Regions from separate parts of the Homo sapiens genome. Here region 1 is linked to region 2. Evidence: promoter capture Hi-C in 16 types of primary human blood cells and fetal thymus (Javierre and others, 2016). All regions are on one chromosome and are shown on one strand. Each heading gives the region's core, a stretch centred on a gene start or on the middle of the fragment in contact. The rest is flanking DNA. Distances are from core to core; before and after follow the strand shown.

Region 1 (4,204 bases), core at 1,246-3,745, 280 kb after region 2:
GAAGGATGTAAAGAACCCAAGTCCCACATGGAACGTGTCCCAGTTCTGATAACTGGGCTTCGGCCTCATTCCCAATACCCCGTCCACATCTTGTGCTCTAGTTCAGGGATCCGGGTCCCTGACTTGTTTCCTGGGACCTAGTCTGTCCCAGTCACTTGCCTGGACCCCCAGAGTGTTTCATCTCTTGGAGTCCTAGGGAGGGGTGCCGGGGTGAGGGGCCCTGGTTGTTGTATTTCAGCCGCTCCCTTCCCCACACTACCCAGACTCCTCTGATATGTTTGGCCTCTAGACTGGACTCTAAGACCAGCATCAGGGTCAGCTACCCCACCCCACCCCTGCAGCACCTGCCCCATCCTTAAGAGGTTCTTGATTAGTCCCCAGCCCTCCCTGCACACACCATCTTAGGGGCACAAAGCCTTCATCCTCCTACTCTCTCAATACTGTCACTGTTCTTGGTTGGATGTCTTCCTCAGATGATCCCTGTGAAAAGTCAGGGTGCTAGCCAGGGATCAGGGGATCACACCGGCAGGACAGGGCTTTCCAGACTTTTCCAAAGCTTCCCAAACTTCCAACAAGAGTAGCGTCACCACATGAGGACCAGGGGGTAGGTATCCCTGGAAGTGGCACTTCAAAACAGAGAAACTGCATTTGAAGTCTGTTATCTGACAAATTCATGCGCTTTTTTCATTCTACTCCAGAATGAATCCAGATTTGTTTTAAGATAAAAATATTTGAATTACCACTGAGCAAAATTAAGCTACAGGCAGCTATGCCTTGTTTATCCTCTTTTGCACCAGTTTACTTGCAAACACCCCATCTCCCTCTGTCTCACTCAGCTGGCAAGGTCCAACCCTGGTGAAATCCTGCTGTCCACCTGCTTCGTGCCAGCACCTGCACAATTGAATGCGGATGTGAAAAAGCACGGATTTTGATGTGTGTTGACTCTCATTTTCTTTTCTATTTATTTATTTATTTTTGATATGGAGTCTTACTCCATCTCCCAGGCTGGAGTGCAGTGGCACAATCTCGGCTCACTACAACTTCCGCCTCCCACGTTCAAGTTTCTCCTGCCTCAGCCTCCCGAATAGCTGGGACTACAGGCACATGCCACCATGCCCAGCTAATTTTTTTTTTTTTTAGTAGAGATAGGGTTTCACCATGTTAGTCAGGCTGGTCTCAAACTCCTGACCTCAAATGATCCACCTGCCTCAGCCTCCTAAAGTGCTGGGATTACAGATGTGAGCCACCGCGCCCAGCCTGACTCTCATTTTCAGTCCTTGGCCAGAGATCTCCAACCCTGCCCTGCAATCTTAGTACACATTCCTTGTTTGGGGTCTTACTCTCCAAAGTGACTACATCATATTCCCTCTCTCCTCAAATCTACAGCCCTCCACTCCCAGCTCTGCACACTCAAGGGTGGCCTCACCTCCTAGTTCATTGAGAAAACCATTAGTTCAGTGTTCCCCCATCACCCCACCACCAAGTCTGCCTGCAAACCCGCACTGTACCCAGATTTTCTGGCTTCCCCTGGTTACTCTGAATAAACTGTCACTGTTCCTATCAGAGGCGCTGTGTAATGGATCCCCTTCCACTTTATCTTCTCAATAACATTTCTCCTGCATTACCAACCTATCCTTATCTACTTTGTCATTTCAATGGGCCTCCACGTCTGCCCCAGTATCTCCTCTCTTACACAGAATCCCCATCTTGGGCCAATACCTCCTGCAGCTGTCACTCATTCCTTTTCTCCTTTCACTGCAAAACCTCTTGAAAAATCAGGAGTATCAGGGGTCCCCAAGACCACCCACAGGTTTGATGATTCACTGGAAAGACTCACAGAACTCAGAAAAGCTGCTAAACTCATGGTTACGGTTTATTACATTGAAAAGATACAGATGCAAATTAGCCAAGGAGAAAGGCATATAGGGTGGAATCCAGGACAGACCAGGAGCAGGATTCCAGTTGTTCTTTCCCAAAGTCCTACGGAGAGCACTTCATTCTCTCAGCAATGATGTGTGACACACACACAAGAGACTTGTCCATCAGGGAAGCTCACCCCAGTCTTGGTGTCCAGGGTCTATACTGGGGGATGGTTATGTAATGGAGCACCCGTATGACTGACCTTAACTACTCAGTCTCAGGACCCTCTCCAGAGGTCAAACTGATACAGTGTGACCAAGGGCATTTGGCATAAAAGACTTTGTCAGCATAAATTATCTGGCATGGCCCAAGGTAAACAAAGATAGTCTCATCAGGCAGGACCTTCCAAGGGTTTAGAAGTTACCTGCTGGGGAGCTGCTCCAGGCCCAGTCCTTTCTTTGGAATGCACAGGGTTCCATCAGCCCAAGCCTGCTGAGTTAACCCTTTGCTAGACAGTGGGTCTACAGTTTTTTGGGGGTTTTGGGTGTTTTGTTTTTGTTTTTGAGATGGAGTCTCACTTTGTCACCCAGACTGGAGTGCAGTGGCACCATCTTGGCCCACTGCAACCTCTGCCTCCCGGGTTCAAGCGATTCTCCTGCCTCAGTCTCCCGAGGAGCTGGGATTACAGGCATGTGCCACCACACCCGGCTAATTTTTATATTTTTAGTAGAGACGGGGTTTCGCCATGTTGGCCAGGCTGGTCTCAAACTCCTGAGCTCAAAATAATCCTCCTGCCTTGGCCTCCCAAAGTACTGGGATTACAGGCGTGAGCCACCACAGTCAGCCAGGTCTACAGTTTTGATGCCACTTCATCCCACTTTCATTCACATCTTGTCCAGTTCCCATGAGGCTGCTGTTCCCCCCACACCCCCACTCCACCGAAGTCTTACCTGTCCAGGCCAACAATAACGTCCACGTTACAAAATCCAATGGCCAGGCCTCTGCCATTGTCTTAGCCACACTCTCAGCTGCATCTAACATACTCCTTCCTTCTTGAAAAATGTATCCTCTTGCCTTCCAAAACACACCCTCTCCTGGTTTGTCTTTCACCTCAGTGGTTCTCAAATTGTAGCCTGCATTACAATCGCCTGGAGCGAGTTAAAGCACTGGTCGCTGACCTCTGGGCTCCACCCTGGAGGTTCTGAGGCAGTAGATCTGGGGTGGGGCCCAATCGTCTGCTTCTCTAACAAGCGCCAGATGATGCTATGGCTGCTGGTCCTGGGACCACACTTTGAGAACTACTGCTCTATTTCACTGGCGGTTCCTACTAGGACTCCTTCTGGTGCCTCCTCATCTCCCTGGTCCCTAAATGCTGCACTACCCCAGGGCGCAGTTCTGGGTCTCTTTATTCTTTCTACCTAGATGCTCTCCCTAGGAAATCTCATCCAAGCCCATGGCTTTGACTCCCTCCTAGATTTTTCCCTGAACTCCACATTTGCATATCCAGGTTACCCAATAGGAGTCTCAAAATGTAGGTATCCAAAACTAAGCACTTGATCTTCCTCTCCCTACCCCACTCACCCCCTTCTCAATAAATAGGCTCAAATAAATAGGCTCAATTCCGGTTGCTCATTGACTTCTCTCTTTCTATTGCCCATCTATTCAATCCATCGCCCATTGACTCAACTACTAACCCATATCTCAACCCACGTTCACTCCTTTCCACTCTGCTACCACTCTGTTCCAAGCCACCATTGTCTCTTAAAAATGCAGTTTCCTCTCTTAAAATCCATTCTCTGGCCGGGTGCAATAGTAACTCACCCCTGTAATCCCAACACTTTGGGAGGTCGGGCAGGAGGATTGCTTGAGCCGAGGAATTCAAGACCAGCCTAGGCAACAGAATGAGATCCTGTCTCCACAAAATTTTTTTTTTTTTTTAATTAGCTGGGCGTGGTGGTGCACACCTGTAGTTCTAGCTACTCTGGAGGCTGAGGCGGGAGGATCACTTGAGTCTGGGAGATAGAGGCTACAGTGAGCCCTGATTGTTCCACTATACTCCAGCCTGAGTCACAGAGTGGGACTCTTAAAAAAAGAATTAGTTCTCCTTATGACACCTACAATGATCATGTTGCAATCAAAATATTGTCACTCCCCTCTGTAAAACTCCAAAGCAGCCCGGGCATGGTGGCTCACGCCTGTAATCCCAGCACTTTGGAAGGCCAAGGCAGGTGGATCACCTGAGGTCAGGAGTTTGAGACCAGCCTGGCCAACACAGTGAAACCCCGTCTCTATTAAAAATACAAAAATTAGCTGGGCATGGTGGCAGGTGCCTGTAAGCCCAGCT
Region 2 (4,396 bases), core at 1,197-3,696:
AGGCTCTTTGCATGGGGATGCCCCGACCTCGTCACTATTCTTCCTGGGTTGGGTGGGGATCCCCTGCCTGAGAACTGTGGGTGTGCCTTTCTGGCTCCCCTGGGCTCAGAGCTGCTCTGAGCTGCTCACACGCCTCTGGCCTGAGTCCCAGATCCCTCTTTCCAGCTGCAGTTGGACACCCCCTCCTTGAGGTCCACAGGCCTCTCGACCCCTACATGTCCAATACCAGAACCCTTCCCCTTGGGGAGTGATGGGGTGGAAACTGGGGCTTCCTCCAGCACTGTGCTCTTTGCTCAGGTGTGTGTTTGACAAGTTTGTCTGCACAGAACACAGTTGAGTGAACAGAAAAGCTGTTGTCACCAAGGGAGTGTTGTGACACATTTTTGGCTGAAGAAATTACATAGATTTTGCTCTCCTGAATTGTGATTACATTCTACAGAGGATTCAATTTTGGATTTTGCTTTTTTTTTGTTTTTGAGAGAGAGTCTTGCTCTGTTGCCCAGGCTGGAGTGCAGTGGTCCAATCTCAGCTCACTGCAAGCTCCACCTACCAGGTTCAAGTGATTCTCCCGGGTTCAAGCAATTCTCCTGCCTCAGCCTCCCAAGTAGCTGGAATTACAAGCGCCCTCCTTCATGCCCGGCTAATTTTTGTATTTTTGTAGAGATGGAGTTTTACCATGTTGGCCAGGCTGGTCTTGAACTCCTTTGACCTCAGGTGATCCACCCACCTCGGCCTCCCAAAGTGCTGGGATTATAGGCGTGAGCCACCGCGCCCCGCCAGGATTGTGACCCATGCGCTCACCTCCTGTCTCCCCGAGGGCCTGAGCTCCTTTTCTTTGGCCTGTCTGATTGATGGTTGCCCATCTACTTTCTATTCTGCTTTCTGGAAAACCCCTGAGCATTTCAAGCCTCCAAGTCCTGAGAATTTCTGCAGCTTTCCCAAGCAGGAAGACCAGGGAGAGGAGAAGAGAAGGAGATGCTGGCAGGGGCAGCAGGGCCGGGGTGACCTCTCCCAGCTCAGGGCCCTAGCTCTGGTCTTTCCAGGGATGGATCTCCCATCCTCCCAGTATTTCTGCCACCCATCCTCTAACCCATTAAAAATAAGAAAAGTGAATAAAATTCTCCCCTTCAAAATAAGAGCTCTTAATATTTCAGTTCAATTAATTCCTGGCATTTTACCTATTCATGTTATTTTATTTTATTTTTTTAGTTTTAGTAGATAAGGGGGTCTCCCTGTGTTGCCCAGGCTGGTTTGGAACTCCTGGCCTTTAGTGATGATCCTCCCCTCTCAGCTTCCCAAAGTGTTGGGATTACAGGCATGAGCCATTTTGCCTGGCCAGGCAGGAAAATGGCGTGAACCCAGGAGGTGGAGCTTGTAGTGAGCCGAGATTGCGCTCCAGCCTGGGCAACAGACTGAGACACCCCTTCTCAAAAAAACAAAACGAAACAAAAAATCAGGGTAGCACTTCCATCCCCAGGCCCAGGCCACTCTTCTAAGTGCTGAGAGGATCTGAGCTCACGTGAGGCTGCCCTAGGCCTGCAGGGGCCATTCTCATCTTACAGAGGAGGGGCCAGAGGTGCAGAGAGGTGGGGTAACCTGCCCAGGCCATGGAGCTGGGCCACTTTCCTGGCCAGCCCTGCCAGCCTCTGCATCACGGGCCCTGCAGGAGGGAGCCTTTGGGAACCAGGCTCTCTTCTTCCTAAATTTTAAAATAAAAGCATTTCTCCTGATCATTGAGTTTTTCCGTATATTCCGTGTTACTGGTGTCATTATAAACGGTGAATGTGAATACTGATCATGGAGGAGGAGTGTGTGTTCAGGGTCATCTGCATCCTCCTCTGCCCACAGTGGAGACATCCTTGGAAGAGATGATTTGCCTTGTGCTTCAGAGATCATTGCCTCCCCACACCCTCTCCTAAGACTTTGTATTGAAACAAAGTAATCTTACACAAAGTTCATCAAAGCACTGTGAACAAAATTCCAGATTGCTCCCATCATCCTTTAGTTCAGTTCTCCCAGTTCCAGAGCCCAGGAATGGCAGGAAGCACACAGAGAGAGCACCCTCCCAAGGTGGGGAGCACTAGCCCAGCCATGACTCTTAGGGGAGAGTCTCAGCAGGGGTCTTGGGCTGGTGCAGGCCGGGGAGGCGGCCCGTTCAGAAGCAGCAGTGGGGTGACCACACAGCAGGGCAAAGAGCCTGGGTGGGAGTGGGGATGGCAGGGGAGCCAGAGGAGAAGGAGCCCAGGGCTGGGGCTGGGGCAGCGGGAGGCCAGGGCTGAGGCACAGAAGGGCTGCCAGGCAGGAAGTGGCAGCAGAGGGCCCAGTGGACAGAGTGGGCGGCAGTACCTGATCTGTGCTTCTGGCCACAGCTTCCTTAGCAGACTTGCCCCTGCTTGTCTGAGGCACTAAGTTTCACTTTTGGCAGCTCTCCCAAAAGTCACAAAAGGTCAGCTCTCCCAAAAGTCACAAAAAGTCACTGCTTGATGAGGGTGGCTCCACCCTCTTCCTTTTGTGGGACTGGAGTGGGAGGGCCCTGGGGTGCTTCAGATCCCTCAGGCTCCTTTCTTTCTCTATTTCCTCGGGCTTGGCAGGGGAAGTCTGATGGAGGTGGCTCACCTCCCATCCTCCCACCCCCAATTCCCTCTCCAGGTACAGCCAGACTCAACTCCCTCCCCAGGTATAGTTTACAAAAGAACAAAGGCCAGATGCGGTGGCTCACACCTGTAATCCGAACACTTTGGGAGGCTGAGGTGGGCAAATTACAAGGTAAGGAGATGAAGACCATCCTGGCCAACATGGTGAAACCCCGTCTCTGCTAAAATACAAAAAATTAGCCAGGTTTGGTGGCCTGCGCCTGTAGTTCCAGCTGCTTGGGAGGCTGAGGCAGGGAAATTGCTTGAACCTTGGAGGCAGAGGTTGCAGTGAGCCGACGTCGCACCACTGCACTCCACCCTGGCAACAGAACGAGACCCTGTCTCAAAAAATAAATAAATAAATAAAAATAAAAAAGAAAGAAAAAAGAAAGGAATTGATGGCTGGTCACGGTGCCTGTTATCCCAGCACTTTGGGAGGCTGAGGCAGGTGGATTGCCTGAAGTCAGGAGTTCAAAATCAACCTGGCCAACCGCACTCCAGCCTGGGCAATAAGAACAAAACTCCGTCTCAAAAACTAAACTAAACTAAAATAAATGAAAGGAATAGAAGCCACAGAAAGGAGCAGGGATCCAGACCAGGGCTGACACCATAGACCAGATGCCACTCCCCTGGTGGACAGGGCAGGCTGCAGCCCCCTCCCCACCACCCCACTGACCTTTGGCATTCAGCCTCCTGGCAGGACCCTGAGCCTGATGTGAAATGAGCACTGGGGTCAGGCTCAGGACTGCATCTCCAGCGGATCCAGTGCCCATTATCTAGCCCAGTCCCCAGATAGCACTGGGAGGGGAGGGCAGTGATCCTGACAGTCAGAGGAGGTCCCAAGCACAGAGAGGCTAAGATACTGTCCCCACGTCACACAGCAAATCAACAGCAGAGCTGGAGTGCTGGCCAGGACTTCCTGTGTCCCTTCTCCCCCACAGCTAGCTACTTTGAGGTTCTTCATTGCTCCATGGAAAGGAGCAGGAGAGGAGACACGAGGGAGGGGACTTACTGCTCCTAAAGGGCCTCCCAGGTCAGAGATGAAGGACCTGGACTTCACATTTGCATTCTGGAACCCATGTCCTCGTCTTCATGCATATCAACCAACACCCTTCAGATCATAAACACCAAAGAGCCAGGCCAGGTGCTGTGGCTCACGCCTGTAATCCCAGCACTTCGGGAGGCTCAGGCAGGCTGATGACCTGAGGTCAGGAGTTCGAGACCAGCCTGGGCAACACGGTGAAACCTCGTCTCTACTAAAAATACAAAAATTAGCCAGGCGTGGTGGCGGGCATCTGTAATCCCAGCTACTCAGGAGTCTGAAGCAGGGGAATCATTCGAACCTGGGAGGCAGAGGTTGCAGCGAGCCGAGATTGTGCCACTGCACTCTAGCCTGGTCGACAAGAACGGGACTCTGTCTAAAAGAAAAGAAAAAGAAAAACCAAAGAACCCCTAGGAAAGTTGAATCCCAAGGGCGAGGACTAGGGGCAGTCACTGCGGAGTCTAGGTTCCACACCAAGGAGTCCCATTGAACCTTGCCCAGCTTGTCCCTCCATATCCTCCCGCCCTGCACACCCTGACAGCCCTCTAGACCCTGCATGGCCCCTGGGGTCACAGGAGCTTGGGTGAGAATTTAGAAGGTTCCTGGGAATGGCATCCCCTCCACCCTATCTGTCCTAAATGTTGGGGCTACAGTCCATGGAAGATTCCAGAATGAGCGGGGTCCTGCCAGGAGAGACATCAGATCTGCACACTGTAGTGCT

What was found. Contacts are between HindIII fragments. The CHiCAGO score rates a contact against its expected background, and 5 or more counts as called.
Region 1: a contact is called between a fragment that was not itself captured here and the fragment with the promoter of APOBEC3H in region 2, in 1 of 17 cell types (erythroblasts). The highest score is 5.4, in erythroblasts.

What each region holds. Positions count from the first base shown.
Region 1 is chr22:38,814,042-38,818,245 of GRCh38, reverse strand. No RefSeq gene overlaps it. Among named protein-coding and RNA genes, the nearest start is that of DNAL4, 22 kb to the right of the region's middle. The HindIII fragment of the contact is 3,873 bases long and covers 559-4,204 here.
Region 2 is chr22:39,095,294-39,099,689 of GRCh38, reverse strand. It overlaps APOBEC3H (apolipoprotein B mRNA editing enzyme catalytic subunit 3H), which reads right to left and starts at 2,446. Exons shown (of 5, transcript NM_181773.5): 1 at 2,347-2,446. RefSeq lists enhancers at 1,028-1,914, 2,245-2,584, 1,915-2,802, 2,125-3,324. The HindIII fragment of the contact is 11,404 bases long and covers 1-4,396 here.